Linked DNA regions of Homo sapiens: regions 2 and 3 are each linked to region 1. The links are contacts of gene promoters, found by promoter capture Hi-C in human tissues and cell types (Jung and others, 2019). All regions are on one chromosome and are shown on one strand. The core of a region is centred on a gene start or on the middle of the fragment in contact, and the rest is flanking DNA. Distances in the headings are between cores, read along the strand shown. Region 1 holds the start of ANKRD26 (ankyrin repeat domain containing 26). Region 2 has its middle 17 kb from the start of ABI1. Region 3 has its middle 7.9 kb from the start of ACBD5.

Region 1 (2,919 bases), core at 311-2,810:
TTCTCCACACTTGAGTATTTTTTGTTTGTTTTTGTTTTTGTTTTTTGAGAGAGAGTCGTGGTCTCCATCCAAGAGTCTCCACTCCAGAGGCAGTGGTGTGAACCTCTGCCTCCCAGGTTCAAGTGTTTCTCCTGCCTCAGCCTCCCGAGTAGCTGGGACTACAGGCATGCACCACCACACCCAGCTAATTTTTGTATTTTTAGTAGAGACGGGGTTTCACCACGTTGGCCTGGTCTCGAACTCCTGACCTCAGGTAATCCACCCACCTCGGCCTCCTAAAGTGCTGGGACTTGACTAGCTTCATAGATCACCTTGGGGAGTGTTGAGGAGACAACATAACTTTCTAGCTGGGGTAGTGTAGGAGGAAAATTCTTGGTGACGATAGTGGAAACCACTCTCCCACATCAAAACCATTTGATCTAGCTAAGCTGGAGAGGCCTGAGAAGTGTTGTTTTGTTTTTGCTCATTTCTCACTTGGCAATAAAGACGCCTGTTCTGGGGCCAGCCACCTCCTCCACAAGGGACCCTAGAGCTGTCCAGAGCTATGGAGGTGCATTCCAGCAGCAATTTCTGCTGAGACTCCACTTGACGTCTGCGTTGCTAATTCCAATTTGTTGTCAAATTATTCAATCTAGGCTGGGCGTGGTGGTTCACACCTGTAATCCCAGCACTTTGGGAGGCTGAGATGGGAGCATCATTTGAGCCCTGGAGTCGGAGACCAGCCTGGGCAACATGGTGAGACCCTGTCTCTACAAAAAATGCAAAAATAGCCGGGCGTGGTGGCTTGCGTCTGTAGTCTCAGCTACTCACTCAGGAGGCTGAGGTGGGAGTATCGTTGAGCCCAGGAGGTGGAGACTGCAGTGAGCCGTGATTGCACCACTGCACTACAGTCTGGGCGACAAAGCGAGACTCTGTTGGGGAAAAAAAAAAAAAAAAGAAGAAAGAGATGTAACCTTGGAAAATCAAAAGCAAAAAATAAAACATAAGGCTGGGCCAAAGGCAGAGGGGTGGGGGAAGGAGGCATGCAGAAATGCGTTCTCATTTCTTCTGGAGAATGTGCATTGGTTTCTCCTCGTAAGTTTGCACTTGACACATATTGCCACGATCTCCGAAATCCTGTGCCCTCTGCACTTGACACATATGCCACGATCTCCGAAATCCTGTGCCCTCTGTTGTTGCATCTGTTAAGTTCTCATGGAGACCAGATGGCACCCAAAGGGACATGGAAGGGGAATAAACTGAGAGATAGGGAGATTCAGAGAGTTTCTTAGGGGAGTTTTCTCGGAGAAGAGGCTTTCAGCATCTTAAAACTCCACGCTACTCCAGTCCCAGTCATGCGTAAAGGCTGCTTCCCCACAGGCGCGAGGCTTCTTTTCGCAAACGTCCTGAACACTCAGCCAGACTCCCACCGACATTTGTTTGACAGGAACGCAGGGCTCGTCCCAGTCGCCGAGATTTGCGAGGTCTGGGCCTTGCACATGCGCATGGAGCACACTTGACCACTGGGCCTTCGTGCGCACGCGCGTGGACCTTGCCATCTGAGGTGCGCATGCGCACTTGTGTCTAGCGGGATCGCTTGCTTGGTAACCCGGAGGGAGAGATTGGAAACCGCGGAGTTTCCTTTGGGAGGCTGCGGCCAGCCGGGGCTGACTTGTTATGTTGGGCTCCGGAGGCCGTTAAGAGCCGAGAGAGACATGAGGTGTCTCTGAAGCCCGGTCGCCTGGGCCATGAAGAAGATTTTTAGTAAGAAGGGCGAGTCGCCCTTGGGCTCCTTCGCGCGGCGGCAGAGGAGCAGCGCGGGAGGCGGGGGCGAGCCGGGGGAGGGCGCCTACTCGCAGCCCGGCTACCACGTCCGAGACCGAGATCTCGGCAAGATCCACAAAGCTGCCAGCGCGGGTAATGTGGCGAAAGTGCAGCAGATCCTTTTGCTCAGGAAGAATGGCTTGAACGATAGAGACAAGATGAACAGGTAATAGGCGTCGCAAGCCCGGACTGAGTGCCACTGGAGTAGGCGGGCAGGAAGAGGGGCCCCTTTTGTGGGAGCCACCCAGGGCCTGGATCAGCCTCCCGCGGGCTCCGTAGCCCCTGGGACGGTGACACCTTGCAGGGCTCCAGCGCCCAGGCCGCCTTTCTGAGCAGAAAAACAAAAACAGAACTCTAGCTGGTTTCCGATCCCCCCGAAATCCCTTAGAGAGCACTTAAGTGACAATTTTAAAGTGAATTAACGAACAAAAGCACGTACAGCGTTTTATTTTTAATGTACACATTTAAGATACAATGTCATACACTTATGGAAAGGTGCATAATGAGATAAGCAGTTTCCATAATATAGCAACTTCTGGGTTAAAAATTATTTCTATAAAATCTGTTATTCGTCAGGCGCGGTGGCTCGCGCCTGTAATCACAGCACTTCGGGAGGCTGAGGCGGGAGGATTGCTTGAGGCCAGGAGTTCAAGGCCAGCCTGGGCATTATAGCGAGACCCCCCCCCCCAACTCTAATAGTCTCAGCTACTTGGAAGGCTGAGGCAGGAGCATCACTTGAGCCCAGGAGTTCTAGGCTGCAGTGAGGTATGTCAGTGACAACAGAGCAAGACCCTATCTTTCAAAAAGAAAAAGAAATAAAATGCCTTTAGGAAATAGATATACAAGTAATTTGTTTTTCTCAGCATTGCTTAAGCAGTGTATTAAGGAGAACCCATAGAATGGATTTTGTGAATAAATGTCAGTGCATGATAATATGTGACCATTGAAAGTGGCAGTAGAGGCCAGGCGTGGTGGCTCGCGCCTGTAAACCCAGCATTTTAGGAGACCAAGGCAAGCGGATATCCTGAGGTCAGAAGTTCGAGACCAGCTTGGCCAACATGGTGAAACCCCGTCTCTACTAAAAATACAAAAATTAGCTAGGCATGGTGGTGGGAG
Region 2 (2,919 bases), core at 232-2,731, 220 kb after region 1:
CAACCTCCTGAGCTCAAGTGATCCCCCACCTCAGCCTCCCACCATGCCTGGCCTGGAGCTATTTTTTAATGGGTACCAAGTTTCACTTCGGGAAAAAGGTGGTGATGGTTGCAATAACAGTAAATATACTCAATACCACTGGACTGGATACTTATAAAATGTTAAAATGGTCATTTTCATTTTTGTGTTATATATATTTTACCATAACAGCAAAAATTAACTTTATAAAGTTATATGCTGTTGGAAACTCTGGAAACAGTGGGAAAAGGGGGAAATTCTATTACATAAAAATTAATTTTGCAATGCAGATCTTTTTTTGATAACTCAAGCTTTTGTTTATTTCAATAAAGCCAAATCCAGTAAACTATTTTCAGCCAGGATTAGTCAGAACTAAAAGGTTGGACTGTTTTCCTTCAGAAACTGAATGTTTTTCTTGCCTGCAATAGGCTGGTGTGTTCCAAATAATAATGGAATTGTCCTCAAAACCAGAAAATACTGGTTCGTATATATTTTAGGGCCTGTTTCTGAATTTTCTATTCTTTTGTTCTTATCTCTTTAACTATTTATGTACCATTACCAAGCCATTTTAATTATAGTAGCACTTAAATTGTTTTAATAACATACAGGGCTAGATTTCCTTGTGTAAAATAAAAACTATTTATTGCAATATTGTGGTGATAGTCGAGGATTAAAAACAATTTAAATGTCTTTCAACATGAGACTGACTGAATAATTATGACCAGTGGAATAGCACGAAAAATAATGGGGAAGTTTTTAATGTTTGATATAGAATGATCTCCAGAATATATGGTTAAATGGACAAAAAAGCGGCTGGGTACAGTGGCTCATGCCTATAATCCCAGCACTTTGGGAGGCCAAGCCGGGTGATCACCTGAGGTTGGGAGTTTGAGACCAGCTTGGCCAACATGGTGAAATCCCTGTCTCTACTAAAAATAGAAAAATTAGCCAGGCATGGTGGCGTGCACGTGTAATCCCAGCTACTCTGGAGGCTAAGGCAGGAGAATTGCTTGAACCCAGGAGGCAGAGGTTGCAGTGAGCCGAGATCAAGCCATTGCACCCCAGCCTGGGTGACAGAGCGAGACTCCATCTAAAAAAAATACTTTCTATCAGAAGTGCTTACATTTCTTGAACACTCACCTTTTTTTTTTTTAGACTGGGGTCTCACAGTGTTGCCTAGGCTGGTCTTGAACTTCTGGGCTCAAGTGATCTACCTGCCTCAACCTCCCAAAGTGCCAGGATTACAGGCATAAGCCACTGAGCCCAGCCTCTGAGCACTCACTTTTAAAAATGTATTTATTTTAATTTATTTATGTGTATTTTTTATATTTATTTATTTATTTATTTTTGAGACGGAGTCTTGCTCAGTCAACCAGGCTGAGTGCATTGGCACCATCTCAGCTCACTGCAACCTCCGCCCCCCATGTTCAAGCGATTCTCCTGCCTCAGCCTCCCGAGTAGCTGGGATTACAGGTGCCTGCCACCATGCCAGGCTAATTTTTGTATTTTTAGTAGAGACAGGGTTTCGCTATGTTGGCCAGGCTGGTCTCGAACGTCCGACCTCAGGTGATCTCCCCGCCTTGGCCTCCCAAAATGCTGGGATTACAGGCATGAGCCATCTCGCTGGGCCTAAATGAGTGTTGTGCTAACTACTTTACGGTATTATCTATATTATTTCATTTATTGTTTACAAGACATAGGTAAGTCCTGGCAAAATTATACACCTTGCCCAGGGTCACACAGGTGTGGATAGTTAAGCTTAGATTTAAAAGAAATGAGCGAGTTAGGCACGGTGGCTCATGCCTAGAATCCCAGCACTTTGGAAAGCCAGGGAGGGAGGATCTCTTGAGCCCAGGAGTTTGAGACCAGCCTGGACAACACAGTGAGACTCTGTCTTTACAAAACATTTAAAAATTAGCTGGGTGCAGTGACTCTAGCCTATGGTCCTAGCTACTAAGAAGGCTGAGGTGGGAGGATTGCTTGAGTCCAGGAGGTTGAGGCTGCAGTGAACTATGATTGGATCACTGCAGTCTACCCCGTGTGACAGAGGGAGACCCTGTCTCAAAAAACAAACATACAAAAAAAGAGCAAATAAGGGATGGCACTTCCAGAACAGTGGAGTAGACACCTTCAAAGACCATGGAAGCAATGAGAACACTGGCAAAAATTGCAAAAGTCATCTTTTTCAAAACGTTGGAAATTAAGGCTTGCAATAATCTGAGCAGCATTGATTCAAGAAAAACATCTGAATCTCAGTAAAAACAGGAAGCTTTTTATATTTTAACTTCTCTTACTCTTATCCTTCTCTCCCCAGCTTCACAGTAGCCCTGAAGGTGAACTTGACAATCATGGTAGCTATGAAAAGCAGCAGCATAACAGTTATTTGAGAGGGAGGAACAGGTTTGGTGTAAACCCCCAAACTCTAATCTAAAGAGAATTGTCACAATTTTACCTGACTGAAGGCTCCTGGGAAAGATCCCATTCTCAGGACTCACCTTTATTTGACCAATACATTCCTATCCTCAGGACATTTGTCAAAACCAATCAGTGGCAATGATTTGCAATTGAAGTGACTGAGGCAGTGATACCAATCTGGCAAATAAAAAGCTGAATCAGAAACTTAAAAGGAGACCAGCCTGGACAACATGGTGAGATCCTGTCTCTAAAAAAAAAAAAAAGACAGCTGGGTGTTGTGGTATGCACCTGTAGTCCCAGCTATCCAGGAGGCTGAGGCAGGGCTTGAGCCTAGGAGTTCGAGGTTACAGTAGCCATGTTCACACCACTGCACTCCAGCCTGGTTGACAGAGCAAGACGTTGTCTCAAACAAACAAACAAACAAACGAACAAAAAACTTAAAAGAGGCTCAGAGTAGTGACATGCACCTGTCATCCGAACTCTTTG
Region 3 (2,919 bases), core at 282-2,781, 150 kb before region 1:
CAGTCCACCAGGAGGCTACAGCTCAGCTCTCAGGACCAGGTAATGATGTAGAACCTCCCACTATCCAGCACGGGGGCCCACCTCTTCCTCCAGAGTCACCGGAAGATGCTGGACCTTTAGCAATTCAACAGGAGACTTCAGTTCAATCTCCGGAACCTATTAATAATGAGAACCCCTCTCCAACCCAGCAGGAAGCTGCAGCTGAGCATCCACAGACTGCTGAGAAGGGTAAGTCTTCTCTAACCCAGCAGGAGGCCCCAGCTGAGACTCCAGAGCTCCCTAATGTAGTTGTAGCTCAATCTCCGGAACATTCAAACCTGACTCAAGCCACAGTTCAACCTTTGGACCTGGGGCTTACCATCACTCCAGAATCCACAACAGAAGTTGAACTTTCTCCAACCATGCAGGAGACCCCAACTCATCCTCCTAAGAAAGTTGTACCCCAACTTCCAGTATATCAAGAGGTTACAATTCCAACACCAGGTCAGGATCAGGCTCAGCATCCAATGTCACCCAGCATTACAGTTCAACCTTTGGACCTGGGACTTACCATCACTCCAGAACCCACTACGGAGGTTGGACATTCTACACCCCTGAAGAAGAATGTAGTTCCTCCAAAGCACCCTAAGGTGACACTTCCACATCCAGACCAGGTTCAGACTCAGCATTCAAACCTGACTCAAGCCACAGTTCAACCTTTGGATTTGGGGCTTACCACCACTCCAGAATCCACAACAGAGATTGAACCTTCTGCAGCCCTGACGACTACAGCTCCTCCTCCAGAACACCCTGAGGTGACACTTCCACCTTCAGACAAGGGTCGGGCTCAGCATTCAAACCTGACTCAAGTCACACTTCCACCTCTGGACCTGGAGCTTACCATAACTACAGAACCTACTACAGAGGTTAAACCGTCTCCAACCACGGAGGAGACCTCAACTCAGCCTCCAGACCTGGGGCTTGCCATAACTCCAGAGCCCACTACAGAGACTGGACATTCTACAGCCCTGGAGAAGACTACAGCTCCTCATCCAGACCAGGTTCAGACTCTGCATCGAAAACTGACTGAAGTCACAGGTCCACCTACTGAACTAGAACCTACTCAGGATTCACTGGTGCAGTCTGAAAGTTACGCCCAAAATAAGGCTTTAACCGCACCAGAGGAACAGTAGGCCTCCACAAGCACCAACATATGTGAGCTCTGTACCTGCGGAGGTGAGACGCTGTCGTGTATTGATCTCAGCCCAAAACAGAGGCTCTGCCAAGTGCCTGTGCCAGAGCCCAACACCTACCATGGCACCTTCACCATCTTAAATTTCCAAGGAAACTATATTTCTTACATTGATGGAAATGTATGGAAAGCATACAGTTGGACCGGGAAACTAATTCTCAATGAAAATTATTTGACTGAATTACATAACGATTCATTTAAAGGCCTGCTATCCCTCCAGTATTTAGATTTATCCTGCAATAAAATACAGTCTATCGAAAGACATACATTTGAACCACTACCATTTTTGCAGTTTATAAATCTTGGTTGCAATTTACTCACAGAACTGAGCTTTGGAACATTTCAGGCCTGGCATGGAATGCAGTTTTTACACAAGTTAATTCTCAATCGCAATCCTCTGACAACTGTTGAAGATCCATATCTCTTTAAATTGTCAGCATTTAAATATCTAGACACGGGAACAATGCAAGTCCCACTTACAACAATTGAGAACATTCTCGTGATGACTGTTGAACTGGAGAAACTGATCTTACCTAGCCATATGACCTGCTGCCTCTGCCAATTTAAAAATAGCACTGAGGCTGTCTGCAAGACAGTCAAGCTGCATTGCAGCAGTGCATTTCTGACAAACACCATACATTGTCTGAAGAAGCATCTGTAGAGAATCCAGGAGTGTTCATGAAGGTGTTACAAGCCCAGAAGAAGCACACGAGCACTGAGCTGACTATTGAGCCGGAGGCAGCCTCAGACAGCAATGGCATCAATTTGTCAGGCTTTGGGAGTGGGCAGCTAGACACCAATGATGAGAGGGATGTTATCAGTGCACTAAGTTACATCTTGCTTTATTTCTCAGCGGTAAATCTAGATGTGAAATCAATGTTGTTACCCTTCATTAATCTGCTTTCTTCAAATGTGCAAGATGGAGATAGGCTCCTGGGTATTTTGAATAACAATACAAAGAGCCCCTCTCTTCAACCTGCATCCAACAACTCAACTTATGAAAATAAATTGAGAAAGCTGTATTTGCTGGAAAGTATGTTAGATGCAGAAATACAAGAAAAAATTGATGAAGTTAAAAGGGAAGAAAAAACTGCCATGCTTATGCAGTCCAGCCTTCTAGGTAACAAATTTAAATGCCAAATATTTGAAAAGAAATTAGAAACTATCTAACCACAGGAAAGCAGCCTGGCAAAGATTCAAAGTGTAGGCAAAAACCTGCAGAGAGTGAACAGAGTCCTCATGGGCCCAAGGAGCATCTTGAAAAGGCACTTCAAAGAGGTGGAAAGCAGAGGATCAGGAGGGAACAGGGTGCCCAGGCATTTGCAGAGAACGCTGCCAAAGAAAAAAGGCTCGGGAGTCCAGCCCCAAGGGAGCTGAGACAGCCTCACATAGAGCAGGGGCCTGACAAGTTAGTGGGAAACACCATCTACACCAAGCCTTCATTCATCCAAGAGCATAAGGCCGCAGTCTCCTCTGTGCTGAAACCCTTCTCCATGGGTGTGCCTTCTGCCTCCACCCCTGCAAAAGCCCTACCTCAGGTCAGAGACAGAGCAAAAGACTTAACCTACACCATTTTCATTTTAGAAAATGCAAAGGCTAGAGTTAAAAATATGAAGGCTGCTAAACCAATCGTACATTCCAGAAAAAAATACTGCTTTCATAAAACTTGCTCCCGCATGGCCCACAGA

What was found. Contacts are between HindIII fragments. The study calls those that stand out against the background at their distance.
Region 2: a contact is called between a fragment that was not itself captured here and the fragment with the promoter of ANKRD26 in region 1, in 1 of the 25 tissues and cell types used here (spleen).
Region 3: a contact is called between a fragment that was not itself captured here and the fragment with the promoter of ANKRD26 in region 1, in 1 of the 25 tissues and cell types used here (spleen).

The regions. Positions count from the first base shown.
Region 1 is chr10:27,099,135-27,102,053 of GRCh38, reverse strand. ANKRD26 (ankyrin repeat domain containing 26) reads left to right here and starts at 1,560. Exons shown (of 34, transcript NM_014915.3): 1 at 1,560-1,969. The coding sequence starts at 1,728. RefSeq lists a silencer at 1,714-1,893 and an enhancer at 2,064-2,123. The HindIII fragment of the contact is 17,734 bases long and covers 1-2,919 here.
Region 2 is chr10:26,876,552-26,879,470 of GRCh38, reverse strand. No RefSeq gene overlaps it. Among named protein-coding and RNA genes, the nearest start is that of ABI1, 17 kb to the right of the region's middle. The HindIII fragment of the contact is 4,104 bases long and covers 1-2,919 here.
Region 3 is chr10:27,247,253-27,250,171 of GRCh38, reverse strand. It overlaps the pseudogene LRRC37A6P. Among named protein-coding and RNA genes, the nearest start is that of ACBD5, 7.9 kb to the right of the region's middle. The HindIII fragment of the contact is 5,017 bases long and covers 1-2,919 here.